Linked DNA regions of Homo sapiens: regions 2 and 3 are each linked to region 1. The links are contacts of gene promoters, found by promoter capture Hi-C in blood cells and fetal thymus (Javierre and others, 2016). All regions are on one chromosome and are shown on one strand. Each heading gives the region's core, a stretch centred on a gene start or on the middle of the fragment in contact. The rest is flanking DNA. Distances are from core to core; before and after follow the strand shown.

Region 1 (4,883 bases), core at 517-3,016:
GGGAGGCCGAGGCGGGCAGATCACGAGGTCAGGAGATCAAGACCATCCTGGCCAACATGGTGAAACCCCGTCTCTACTAAAAATACAAAAAATTAGCCAGGCATGGTGGCGGGTGCCTGTAGTCCCAGCTACTCAGGAAGCTGAGGCAGGAGAATGGTGTGAACCCGGGAGGCGGAGCTTGCAGTGAGCCGACATCACACCACTGCACTTCAGCCTGGGCGACGGAGTGAGACTCTGTCTCAAAAAAATAAAAATAAAATAAATAAATTGTAACCAGCAGTAATCCTCAGGGAGTAATTTGGCATCAAGTGAATATCCTGTTCCCTATCACCTTTTCACCAAATGATATCACTGATGATCCTGGCATGAATCAATTATAAAATTCCATTATTCATTTAGGATGACTTAGTTGGCATACTTTTGTAAAGAGAACTGTTTCCTCATCAACTGATGCTCGTCATCAGCTGTATTTCAGTTACCCCGAAATACAGCTGCTACTAGAAAGGCGGAATACCTGTTTGTTTTCTTAAATTATCACTTTGCAGAGTAAAGTTGGTGTAATAGTCACCACCAATAGTGTGGCAAATGAAGTTATAGTTTTTTTTTTAATTTGGATTACTCTTTGGGGGGAATGGCTTTTTTATGTTTAAAGTTTCCAATCATTTTTCAGTTTGCAGTCATTGTTATTTTTGATTCTCAAATTGTTCTAATTTTGGCCAGTGGGCAACTTCAGGCTGGTTCCCATGTCCTTTTAGAAGGACCTCGTTCGTCTTGAGAGGCGTCCTGAGCTTCTGACACAAGATGTTCCAAGTTGTCCTCATTCACTCCTAGCTCCTGACCTGGCATCAGTCATTTCTCGAAGGATCACTTGGTACCTTTTAGTGGGGGGTGGTATTTAGAGATTAATAGCTGGGTGTCAAGGATAGACAATGTTCCTATGCCCTTATGTTCATTCAAAAGTTAACAATATAGGTTTTAAAAAATACACCCAGGATGTGTGTGTGTGTGGGAGGGGGTAACCAAAACACAATATAGGGGTTTCTACTGTGACCCTAACTTATATTATGATCCCGATTTTTAAAAAGAGGAAACGGAGACCAGAGGTGCCCAAAGTTACTTGGCTAGTAAATGGCAGCGTCGGGATTTAAGCCCAGGCATGTAACTTCCATGTAACAGGGAAGGGAGTCCCAAGCATTCAGAGGGGCCGCTCCAGCAGGCGACGGGTCCGTGGAAAGGGGTCAGATTGATGACCAGTGCTGGGGGTGCCGGAACCAGCAGAAAGGGTGAACGGACCCGTCCTGCCCGACTCCTCTAGGCCAGGAAGGCAGGACCCGGCGAGCTGCCGGATGAGGGAGCCGTTGATGGAGTCGCCTGGGCCGCTGTTTCGCCTCAGATCTGACCAGAACTTCCTAAGGCACAGAAAGTACCAAAGAACCACACACAAGCACCCCAGAGCGAAGAAACCAGTCACGCGCCACGACCTTCAGCCAGTGTCCATGGGACCCGACCCGCCTGTGAGGAGTGCCTGTCCACCCCTCAATCAGAGGAAGCCTTGAGCAAGGAGGGGCGGGACATCAGTAGGTCGTGTCCAATGAGGAGCCAGCGCCGGATTGCTTCAGGACAGACTATTTCTGAGTCTCGGCGGAAGGCGGAGGGAAGGCCGTGGGGATGGCCAATCAAAGGGGGCGACTCAGGTCGGTGGGGACCGGCAGCCAATCAGGAGAGCGCTCGCTCCTGACTCGACCGGCCCACGCTTCCCGCCAGTCCCCTAACCCTGAGGCTGCCGCGCGGCGGTCACTGCGCCGGGGTAGTGGGCCCCAGTGTTGCGCTCTCTGGCCGTTCCTTACACTCTGCTTCAGGCTCCAGTGCAGGGGCGTAGTGGGATATGGCCAACTCGGGCTGCAAGGACGTCACGGGTCCAGATGAGGAGAGTTTTCTGTACTTTGCCTACGGCAGCAACCTGCTGACAGAGAGGATCCACCTCCGAAACCCCTCGGCGGCGTTCTTCTGTGTGGCCCGCCTGCAGGTGAGTGCCCCCTCCCGCGCTACCCACGCCGGGGCCGGGATGCCCAGAAGGCGCTTCCTCGGGGGCACACGTGGCCGATCGGGCCAGGAATGCAGTTCTTCTTGATGAGGGTACTAGGACGCGGCTTCCGCCTCCTGGGCGGGTCCACCTCCTCCGCTGCGCCCACTGCCCGGCCCTGCCCGGGCCACGGTGCCCTCTCGGGCTGCCTGGAGCTTTCCCCCTCCTGGCCTTTGCACCGGCTGCTCGGTCTGCACCGATTTGGCCTCTCGTCCACTAACTTAACAGATTGCATACAGTTGGTACTTCTGGAGAGTCTTCTCTGACCCGTGTCTGGGAATTGGTTGCCTTCTGTTCTGTACATAACCTTTGTTACAGCACTTCTCACCTGGCATTGTGAAAATCCGTTTACCTGCCTTTCGCTCCTCATCTAAGAGGTCCTGAAAGCTGGGACCATGTCTTATTTGTAATAATGCTGTGTTCAGTTAGGTCAAGGGGCTGCATGAACTATAACCAGTGTTGGTAAATCATTGCTCTTCAGCCCAGTCCATTCATTCATTTAGTACATATTCTTCCGGCACTTAACACTAAGGGTATAAACATGATTGAGTAAAGTGGCTGTTTCGAGGAACTCTCAGTCTGTAGGACAGAGGTGCAATAGATTATGTTCAAAACCTTTTTGACAGCGTCGAATGAGACAAACATGATCTCTGCTAACATCGTGAGTTCTTAGTTGCAAGCAACAGAAACTGGCTGATTTAAGCAAAAAAAAAAAAAAAAAAAAAAAAAAGAATGTGTTGAAAGGCTATTGGAGAGCTCACAGAATGACCAGGAAGGCAGGAGTACAAAGCTGACAAAACGGACAAGCATAAAGGGAGGCACAGCAACTGTAATACAGTGGGCATCACACAACAGAACCAGCCCACGGAGCCTCTTCCACGCCACTGCTGAACTTGGTAAACGTGGATGCTGTATTGTCCACCACCCCCTGCCCTGGACACTGCCTGCCTCTGTACATCCCTGCAGTTCCTGAAACCCAAATGTGTCAGCCTCTCTGGAGTCCCTGCTGTCTTGGGCACTAGCTTCTAATTGAAAGCCCCAGAATGTCCCGATTGGCTAAGTTTTGGCCACGTACCCATGCCGTGATTTTAAGCAAAACTGAGAGAACCAGCTTCTGGCCTTTGAAGCCTCAAAAATGGGAGTCAGGCTCTGATACTCCCTATTCCCAAACTCGTAAGGTAGGGAATTTCCCAACTGTAGGAAGGGAGTCCAAATGCTTACAGTCAGGGCAAGGGGAAGAGATATTAAACAAGGGATTATTCAGTTACAGGTATATGGTCCATCTTAAAAAGGAGGCATGCAAAGTGCAATGGGGCGTATGACCAGGGTACCTGACCTAACCAGGATGCTCAGGAAAGCCCTGCCTGAAAATGTGACTTTTAAGTTGAGACCTGAATGATTGTAGAGGTGGGGAGCACACAAAACAGGGAACAGCATCTTCTGCAAAGGACCTGAAGAAAGAGGAAGCTGGATCTTTCAGTCAGTGTGGCTGGAGTTTAGTAAGGGGAATGTGGCATGAAGACTGGAGATATGTGGAAGGGCCACATCTTCCAGGACCACAGAAGCCAAATAAGACACACTGCAGAACTAAAGCACATGAAAGATAGATTTCTATCTCCAAAAGCCCATTCTGGTCACATGGAAAATAGATTTGAAGGAGGGAAGAGTGAATGTGGAGAGTTCAAGAAGTTTTTGCAGCAATTTATGCCAAAGATAATGAATGGCATCTTGAACTAGGGTGGTGGCAGGGCAGGGTGGATGGATTTGAGAACTAATTTGGAGATAACATTGTTAAAGCATAGTGATTGAGTGTGAAGAGAATACCAAAGATGACTCAGGTTTTTGGCACCAGGTAGATGCAGGTGATGTTTGCAGAGAAAAGAGGAAAATCCGGCTTGGGAGGAGAAAATTTTAAGTTCAGTTTGAACATTTTGAATTTGAAATGCTTGCTAAACAGTCAAGTGAACAGAATAATATTAGCAAACATTTATTAAGTACTTACTGTGTGCTAGGCCCTGTTCTAAGCACTTCTGAAGCTCAGAAGAGAGATCTGGTCTGGGTTTAAAGATGATCAGAATATTTGAAGCCATTGGAGGGGATGAGAATGTCTTGAGCAAATTGCCAAATGAATAGAGAAAATGGCCTAGACCATGGGTGTCCAACCTTTTGGCTTCCTTGGGCCACACTGGAAGAAGAAAAATTGTCTTGGGCCACACATAAAATACACTAAAACTAATGATAGCTGATGAGCTAAAACAAAAACAAAAACAAAAAAAAGGCCCATGCATAATTTTTGTGATGTCCGCCACCACAGGTAAGCAAAAAAGTTCTTGCATCCAAAGGGTTGGACACCCATGGCCTAGACTGAGCCTTGAGCAACTCCAACATTTAAAAATCAGGTAATGGAGGAGGAGTTGGCAAAGGGGATTGAGATCAAGGAACAGCCTGAAAATCAGGAAAGAGGCAGATCAGGAGAAGGTGGTTACCTATGTTCCGCTGAGAAGTGGAACAAGATGAGGAATGAAAATAGTTTATTGGATTTAGCAATACACAACCAGTTAGTGTGAATTGTAACTTTTATCACATCTCCTGGTGTCCTGCCAGGGACATGTGGTCCTAGAAGAACATCTCTTATGCTGAATAAAGGTACTGGTCACTCCAACCACCCCAATTCCTGAGATGTCTGACAAGTTTTTCTAGAAAATATAAGTGACAGGGATAAAATATAAACCTGAAAAGGATCCTAGAATTATCGTTTAGTTCAACTTTTTAAATTTATCTATAAGGAAACTAAGCTCTG
Region 2 (4,846 bases), core at 534-3,033, 270 kb after region 1:
TAACTCCTGTCCCCACCTCTAATCACATCCAGTACCACTTACCACCACAGCTTTTTTCTCTCCAGGCCTTCTATTGCTTTTTATCATGCCTGTCTTGCTGGGTGTTCATGTGGTTGACCTTTGTGGTCACAGCCAATTACCGGGTGCTTTTCCTTCTGCCCAGCAAACCATGAATCTCGGCACAATGTGGTCTCTGGGATAGTGGCTCTGATTAGCAGCATTTGTGAGCTGGGTCATCAGGAGCTGTGCTTTACTGTCAATCAGTTCTATTTTTGTTTTCCCAAAGACTTTTGAGTCCAGAGAGATTGTAGAAGCCTGAGGGATCTAGAAAATGAGGCTAGTGCAGAGGTGTGGTTTGGCCAATAGTGAAAATAACAGCCTGTGGAAATAGTCAAAGGAGAGATGACTGTGGGCGGCAGGAGGCAAGAAAGTTTTCCTTAAGAATGAGTTAAGACAGACAAAGGATTAAAAGGAACATCCTCATTTTGGGAGGCCAAGGCGGGTGGATCACTTGAGGTCAGGAGTTTAAGACCAGCCTGGCCAACATGGTGAAATCCTGTCTCAACTAAAAATATGCAAATTAGCTGGGCATGGCAGCGCACGCCTGTAGTCCCAGCTACTCAAGAGACTGAGGCAGGAGAATGGCGTGAACTCAGGAGGTGGAGGCTGCAGTGAGCCGAGATAGCGCCACTGCACTCCAGCCTGGGCGACAGAGCGAGACTCCGTCTCAAAAAAAATAAATAAATAAAAGTAAAATTAAAAAAATAAGAATAAAAGGAATATCCAAAACTGCAGAGAAGGCAGCCCAAATGAAAGGTGAGTGATGGTGCAGGGCATGGTGTATACACACAGCAGTGTGTGTCTGTGTGTGTATGTACACATGAGCACATGTGTATGCAGAAGGATTAGCACCGGGACCTGAGCCTAATAAAGTTAGGAAGGAATAAACTATGCAGGGTCTTGAAAGCTAGATGCATAAATTTGTAATCATTGCAGTAGGCAGCTTAGAGCTACTAATGGGGAAAGAAATTTGGGCACGGGTATCTATCTAGGTGATGACATAAAAGCAAAGTAAAAATGGAGGAGAAATAATCCTAGGATATTTTGAAGGCACAATTGACAAGCCTGGATGATTGGCTCAATTTGAAAGGCTGAATGGAGGGAACAGTCAATGTTAATGCCAAAGTTTTGAGCTCAGGGGCATGTTGGCACCAACATAGAAAGGGAAGTTTGAAAGAGCTGAAAGAAGATCATGAATTCTGTTTTAGAAGTGACATTTCATTTTTCAGCAAGAGACTTTCCATCCTCATTTGTTTATTTGGCTATGTGGTTACCAGAACAGATTTGCATCTGGAGTGCAATGGGGGAAGCCTGGGGAACAAGAACAGACTTCTCTCTCACCCACATTTCTGGCTTTCTTAGCCAACAATACAAGACCAGAAACCTCCACTAGATATTAAATGGCTTCTTGGTCTTGCAGTGAAGCCTCTGGCTAGAATGAGACACATGGAAACCTGTGAGTCAAAGAGAAGATCTCAGAAACCCATTATTTGCTGTGACTTCAGAGCAGTACTCACATTCTTTTGCTGACAAGTATGTACCAACCAAATTTGGCACTGTCAGCACACTGGCAGGGAGCCAAGATGGTAAATAGAAACTGATCCATCACAGAAAAAAAAAAAAAGAGGAGAGCAAATGATCATTCCACCCTACATTTCTTGGGCAAATAAGGAGGCAAATGATCATTCCACCCCATAGAGCTCATGCCCACCTCTGAGATAATAGACCATATCCCTGTTCTCTGTAACTCAGGCAACTTTAAATACAGCATCCCCAAATGACATCAGGTTGTAAGGCCCTGGTAAAGGCAATTGTTTGAGGCTGCACAGACTCTGCTGGAACTTTGGGAATCTTTCTGCATTCCAAGCACCTAAATGGGGGCTTTCTTGATAGGTAGTCCCTGGGTTAACCTCACTTTGATTTTCATAACACAATCATGCACTTGAGTTTCAATCTGGCTGTGGATTTTAGAGCACAGATTAACAGATGCCTATAGAGTCTATATAATTTTGAACGCTAGCATGTAACCCTCACAATCACTCTCACTAGAATCAATTCATTTAGGGACATTTGGCTTTTCTCTTCCAGGCATTCTGGAAGTCCTAAGTGGGTCCACTTGCCATGTAGCATAGTGAGCAGTTGTTCAGCATGTAGGTTTTGTGCAAGCAGAGCTATGCTAAAGTAACAGCTTTCCTTCTACGAGCTTCTTTGACCTGGGGAAAAATTATCAGTTTCTTTATCAGTAAAACAGGGAAATAATACCTAGTTTCAAGTGGTATTGTGATTAATAAATTATATAAAGAGGCTGTATTCATTATGTTTTGCTGCCTAACAAATTACCCCAAAATGTAGTGGCCTAAAGAACAATAAAAATTAATTATCTCATAGTTTCTGAGGGTCAGGAATTGAGGAATGGTTTAGCTGGGTGGTACTGGTTCAGGGTCTTATAAGGTTCATGGATGTCAGCCAGGGCTGCAGTCATCCAAAGGCTAGACTGGGGCAGGAGGATCTTCTTGTAAGGCTGTTCACTCACATGGCTGATATGTGGTGCTGGTTCTTGGCAGGAGACCTCAGTTCCTCTCCACAGGATTGATGGAGTGTCCTCAAAGTGACAACTCGCTTCTCCCAGAGTGACCCACCAAGAGACCAAAGCAGAAACTGCAATGCATTTTAGGACTTGGCCTCAGAAGTCACAATCACCACTTCCATTGTATTCTATTTGTTAAAGAGGTCAGCCCTGATTCAATATGGGAGGGGACTACGCAAAGGCATGAATATCAGGAAACAAGTATCATTGGGGGTTTTCTTGGATGCTGGCAACCATAGGGCTTGCACAGTTCCTAGCTAAATGGTAGCTAATAATATGAATAATATTATTATCTGCTTTTTATCAAATAAAAACCGTTTATTTTCCTCTGTTCTAAAATGACCCAATCATTGCTTTTCTGCTCTCAGATCTACTGGCCTGTCAGTCCCCTAGTGATGTCAGAAAGGGCAGCACCCCATGACCTCACAAGTGTGAGTCAAATAACTTGTATTCTGAAACTTTGGCCTCTTCTATTTCTTTATATATGTAATGAGAATACCTAACTCCAACTTCCTGATTTCTCTGATGATTTGAATGCTGCTGTCAGCCAGCATGTGCAGGACATAAGCAATCACTGCTGCAGGAAAGATGCTGACTTGCAGTTCATGGCCTGGCTCTGCTAGGCAGAGAGTAGTGACCCAGGTCACCCCTGTGACACCATGGGGACCATGTCAGAAACGGAAATGTGCCATTATGGGGCAACTAAAGAAGCCTGTCATCTCTCAGGCAGTGTTTGTTGGCACTGGTCCCAAACACCTGGTTAATTGTAAGTCACTGTCATGGTAACCTTCCCTACATCATCAGAGTAGATGCTACATGCTTAATGAAACTCATATTGGCTAGTGATGGGATGGCTGAGGACAGGTCAATGGCAGAGGCTGCCAGTTGTTTCCCAACGTCAGTTCTACCCTTCTTCCATAGGGAGAGATTCCTAAACATTAGCTGGGAACAAGGCACCCCATAATAAAATCTATGCCTTTCAGGCTTTTTTGACAAAGTTCTGGCCAATGGGACATAAGTGGAGGTGGTACATGAAACTTCTGAAGAGGGAGGCATGCCTTCATTCTCCTCTTCCTCCTTCTTGATGGCTGGAATGTTCATGTAATGACTAGTGCTCAGAGCTCCAGGTGCCATTTTGAACCATGAGGTGACCTTGGGAATGGAAGCCACTTGTGGCAGAGCAAAAAGAAGAAACCTGGGTCCCTGACACCATGGAGCTCCATTCCAATCATGGGTTGCCTGCTTCTAGATTTCTGGAACATTAGAAAGAAATAGCTTTTCAATTCTTTTAAGCCATTCTTACTTGTTTTCTTTCTGTTGCTTTATGACCAACATAATCCCAACTACATAACGTCCTATGACAATGGCTATTATCCCAGTTCTAGCACATGATCTGTCACCAGGGCATGCATGTATCAAACGCAGGAAAGTCTGTAGAAATGATTCCAGGAGAGAGAAGAGAAACCATCATTTATAGTTTTATGAAACATTTATTGAGCTGTCCCTACTATGGGCAAGGCACCGTGAGGGATTCAAAAGTGAATGGGTCTCATCCCATGAAGCTTAACTATCAAATTGACATGAAGGAGGTCAGACAGTTGTGTACGGAGTTTGTTGAGTGTTTCTCCTCCATTTGGGCTTCCTGTTACTGCCACTTTGTTCTTTGTGAAGAACTTCTACATGTCAGGCACTGTGCTAGGTGCCGGAATCACAATGATATACTAAAGCAGATGTAGTATTAAATACATCTCCTTGTGCAGTTAACAGTATAGGATGATGTCATATGCTATAGGTATACTTTGGGTTCCTGTGTCTTTAAAAAAGTAAAATTCCAATGGAACAGAACAGAGCCCTCAGAAAAAATGCCACATATCTACAACCATCTGATCTTTGACAAACCTGACAAAAACAAGAAATGGGGAAATGATTCACTATTTAATAAATGGTGCTGGGAAAACTGGCTAGCCATATGTAGAAAGCTGAAACTGGATCCCTTCCTTACACTTTATACAAAAATTAATTCAAGATGGATTAAAGACTTAAACGTTAGACCTAAAACCATAAAAACCCTAGAAGAAAACCTAGGCAACACCATTCAGGACATAGGCATGGGCAAGGACTTCATGTCTAAAACACAAAAAACAATGGCAACAAAAGCCAAAATTGACAAATGGGATCTAATTAAACTAAGGAGCTTCT
Region 3 (4,383 bases), core at 873-3,372, 280 kb after region 1:
ATTCCCCTTTGCAGTACTTTCCACACTCTGCCCCTGCGCCCAACACTGCTGATCTGCTTTTCGTCGCTACAGATTAATGTATATTTTCTAGAATTTATATAAATGGCATCAGAGAGTGTGGACGCCTTTGCTTCTGTCTTCATTCACTTAGCATAATGATTTTTAGGCTATCACTAGTTTATTCCTCTTTATTGCTAGTAATATTCCATTTCATGGATAACCTCATTTTGTTTATCCAATCACCCACTGACGGACATTCGAGTTGTTTCCAGTTTTTAGTTCATGCGCATAAAGCTCCTCTGAATATTTGTGCACAAGTCTTTGTGTGGGTGTGTTTTCATTTCTCTTGGGTAAATACCTAGGAATGAAATGACTAGGTCATATGGTAATATGCTTAAATTTTTTGAATATGTATTAACTTATTTTCTTTCTAAATGAACTTTATTTTTTTAGTGCGGCTTTAGGTTCACAGCAGAATTGAGCAAAAAGTACAGAGATTTCCCATTACCCTCTACCCCCACCATGCACAGCCTCCCCATTATCAACATCCCACACCAGAGTGGTACATTCGTTACAGCTGATGAACCCGCACTAACACATTACTATCTACAGTCCATAGTTAACATTAAGGTCCACTGTAGGTGTTGTGCATTCTATGGGTTTGAATAAATGTATAGTGACATATATTCACCATTATAGTATCATATAGAATAGTTTTATATTCTATATGATATAATAGTTTTACTTATTATAGTATCCTATAGAATAGTTTTACTGCACTAAATATCCTCTGTGCCTTGCATATTCATCCCTCCACCAGGCCCTGACAACCATTCATCTTTTTACTCTCTCCATCATTTTGCCTTTTCCAAACTGTCATATGCTGGGAATTATACAGTATGTAGCCCTTTAAAATTGGCATCTTTCACTTAGTAATATGCATTAAATTTCATCTATGTCTTTCTTTTAGAGACAGAGTCTTGCTCTGTCACCCAGGTTGGAGTGCATTGGCGTAATCATAGCTCACTGCAGCTTCGACCTCCTGGGCTTGAGTGATCCTCCTGCTTCAGCCTCCTGAGTAGCTAGGACTACAAGTGTGAGCCATCATGCCTGGATAATTTTTTAATGTTTTTGTAGATATGGGGTCTAGCTATGTTGCCCAGGCTCACATCCATTTCTTTTCTGGCTTGATAGTTCATTCCTTTTTAGTTCTGAATAATATTCCATTATCTGGATGTACCACAGTTTATTTATCTCCTTACCTACTGAAGGATATCTTGGTTGCTTCCAAGTTTTGGCAAATTAGGAATAAAGCTTCTGTAAATATCCATGGGCAGGTTTTCGTGTGGATGAAAGTTTTCAACTCCTTTGGGTAAATACCAAGGAGCATAACTGCTGGATCATATGATAAGAATATATTTGTTTTTGTAATAAAACCATCTTCCAAAGTGTCTACCATTTTGCATTCCTAGCAGCAATGAATGAGAGTTCTTGTTGCTCTAACTTCTTGTCAGCATTTGGTGTTATCAGCATTCTGGATTTTGGCCATTCTAATAGGTAGGTGGTGTTATCTTGTGTTAATTTGCATTTCCCTGATGACACGTGATGTGGAACATCTTTTCATATACTTATTTGCTAACTGTATGTCTTCTTCGGTGAAGTGTCCATTAAAGTCTTTGACCCATTTTTACATCAGGATGTTTGTTTTCTTATTGTTGAGTTTTAAGGGTTTTTTTTTTTTATATATTTTGAATAAAGTCCTTTATCAGATATGCCTTTGCAAATATTTTCTTCCAGTCTATGGCTTATCCTTTTATTCTCTTAGCAGTGTCTTTCACAGAGCAGAACATTTGAATTTTAATGATGTCCATTTTGTCAGTTTCTTCTTTCATGGATTGTGCCTTTAGTGTTACATCTAAAAAGTCATCACCAAACCCAAGGTCATCTAGACTTTCTCCCATGTTATCTTCTATGAGTTTTATAGTTTGCATTTTACATTTAGGTCTGTGATCTATTTTGAGTTAATTTTTGTGATGGGTTTAAGGTTTGTATCTAGATTTATATTTTTGCATGTGGATACCCAGTTGTTCCAGCACCACTTTGTTGAAAAGACTATCTTTTCTTCATTGTATTGCCTTTGCTTCTGTGTTAGAGATCAGTTAGCCACATTTATGTGGGTCTATTTCTGGGCTCTCTGTTCCGTTTTATTGAGCTATCTGTCTATTCTTTCACTAGCACCACACTTTTGTGATTACTGTAGCTTTATAATAAATCTTCCATTACATAGGGTTGGTCTTCCAACTTTGTTCTTCTTCAATGTTGACTTGCTACTTCTGGGTCTTTTGCCTCTCCATATAAACTTTAGATCAGTTTGTCAGTATCCACAAATTAACTTGCTAAGATTTCATTGACTTCACATTGACTTTATAGATAAAGTTGGGAAAGAACTGACATCTTGACAACATTGAGTCTTCCTATCCATGAACATGGAACATCTCTTTATTAAGTTCGTCCAGGATTTCTTTTATCCAAGTTTTGCATTCTTCCTCATGTAGATCTTGTGCATGATTTGTTAGATTTATACCTAAGTATTTCATTTTTGGGGTAAATAGTATTGTGTTTTAAATTTCAAATTCCACTTATTCATTGCTGGGATTTAGGAAAATGATTGACTTTTGTATACTAACCTTGTATCTTGCAACCTTGCTATCATCACTTATTAGTTCTAGGAGTTTTTTGTTAATTCTTTCAGATTTTCTACATACATAGTTATATCATTTGCAAACAATGGCAGTTTTATTTCTTCCTTCCCAATCTATATATCTTTTTTTCTTGTCTTATTGCATTAGTTAGGACTTCCAGTTAGATGTTGAAAATAATTGGTGAAAGAGAACATCCTTGCATTGTTCCTGATCTTAGCAGAAAGCTTCTAGTTTCTCAACATTAAGTGTGATGCTAGCTGTGGGTATTTTGCAAATGTTCCTTATCCAGTTAAAGAAGTTTCCCTCTATTCCTACTTTGCTGAGAGTTTTATCATGAATAGATGTTGGAATTTTTCAGGTGCTGTTTCTGCATCTATTTATACGATCATGTGATTTTCTTCTTTAGCTTTTTGGTGTAATGAATTACATTAATTGATTTTTGAATATTGGACCAGACTTGCATACCTGAGATAAATCCCACTTGGTCATGGAGTATAATTCTTTTTATACATTGTTGGATTTGATTTGCCAAATTTTTTTGAAAATTTTTGCATCTATGTTTATGAGAAGTGTTGGTCTGTAGTTTCCTTTCCTTGTAATGTCTTTGGTTTTAGTATGAGGGTAATGCTAGCCTCATATAATGAGTTAGAAAGTATTCACTCTGCCACTATTTTCTGAAATAGATTGTAGAGAACTGGTATGATTTTTTCCTTAAATTTTGGAAAAATTCACCCATGAACCTACCTGGGCTTGGCACTTTCTGTTTTGGAAAGTTATTAACTGTTACTCAATTTCTTTAATAGATATAGGCCTATTCAGATTGTCTATTTCTTCTTGTGTGAATTTTGGCAGATTTTGTCTTTCAAGGAATTCATCCATTTTATCAGCTTATGAAATTTGTGGGAAGAGTTGTTCAAAGTATTCCTTTGTTATTCTTTTAATATCCACAGGACCTGTAGTGATATCCCCTTTTATTTTTAATATTAGTAGTTTGTGTTATTTCTTTTTTTTCTTCATTAGTCTGGTTTAGACACTTATCAATTTTATTATTGATATTTTCAAAGAATCAGCTTATGGTTTGATTTTCTCTATTGATTTTGTGTTTACAATTTCATTGATGTTTGCTCTAATTTCTATCATTTCTTTTCTTTGCTTACTTTGGATTGAGTTTGCTTGTTTTTTTAAATAATTTCCTAAGGTGGAAGCTTAGATTATTGATTTTGATCTTTTTTCTCTTCTAAATATGCATTCAATGCTATACATTTCTCTCTCAGCACTTCTTTCACTGCATCTCATAAATTTTGAGAAGTTGTATTTTCATTTCCATTTAGTTAAAAAATATTTTAAAACTTCTCTTGAGATTTCTTATTTGACCTATGTGTTATTTAGAAATGTGTTATTTAATCTCTAAGTATCTGGGAATTTTCCTGGTATCTTTATGTTGTCAATTTTAATTTAATTTCATTGTGGTCTGAAAGCAGACACTGTATCATTTTTATTTTTTTTTTAATTGTTAAGATGTGTTTCATGGCCCGGAATGTGGTCTATGTTGGTGTATGTTCCATGCGAGCTTGAGAAGAATGTGCATCGTGCTGTTGTTGAATGAAGTAGTCTATAGATGTCAATTATATCCAGTTGATTGATGATGTCACTGAGATAAGCTATACCCTTACTGATTTTC

The links. Contacts are between HindIII fragments. The CHiCAGO score rates a contact against its expected background, and 5 or more counts as called.
Region 2: a contact is called between a fragment that was not itself captured here and the fragment with the promoter of GGCT in region 1, in 7 of 17 cell types (total B cells, non-activated CD4 T cells, activated CD4 T cells and 4 more). The highest score is 6.7, in total B cells.
Region 3: a fragment that was not itself captured here is called in contact with the fragment with the promoter of GGCT in region 1 in 1 of 17 cell types (naive B cells); the score reaches 5.1 in naive B cells.

What each region holds. Positions count from the first base shown.
Region 1 is chr7:30,501,712-30,506,594 of GRCh38, reverse strand. It overlaps GGCT (gamma-glutamylcyclotransferase), which reads left to right and starts at 1,766. Exons shown (of 4, transcript NM_024051.4): 1 at 1,766-2,026. The coding sequence starts at 1,886. RefSeq lists enhancers at 1,291-1,380, 800-1,678, 1,821-2,030, 1,679-2,558 and a silencer at 2,181-2,360. The HindIII fragment of the contact is 6,754 bases long and covers 1-4,883 here.
Region 2 is chr7:30,235,869-30,240,714 of GRCh38, reverse strand. The region is part of intron 2 of LOC124901607 (a long non-coding RNA gene); the gene reads right to left. Among named protein-coding and RNA genes, the nearest start is that of ZNRF2, 46 kb to the left of the region's middle. The HindIII fragment of the contact is 4,856 bases long and covers 1-4,211 here.
Region 3 is chr7:30,217,897-30,222,279 of GRCh38, reverse strand. The region is part of intron 1 of LOC124901607 (a long non-coding RNA gene); the gene reads right to left. Among named protein-coding and RNA genes, the nearest start is that of ZNRF2, 65 kb to the left of the region's middle. The HindIII fragment of the contact is 1,612 bases long and covers 1,317-2,928 here.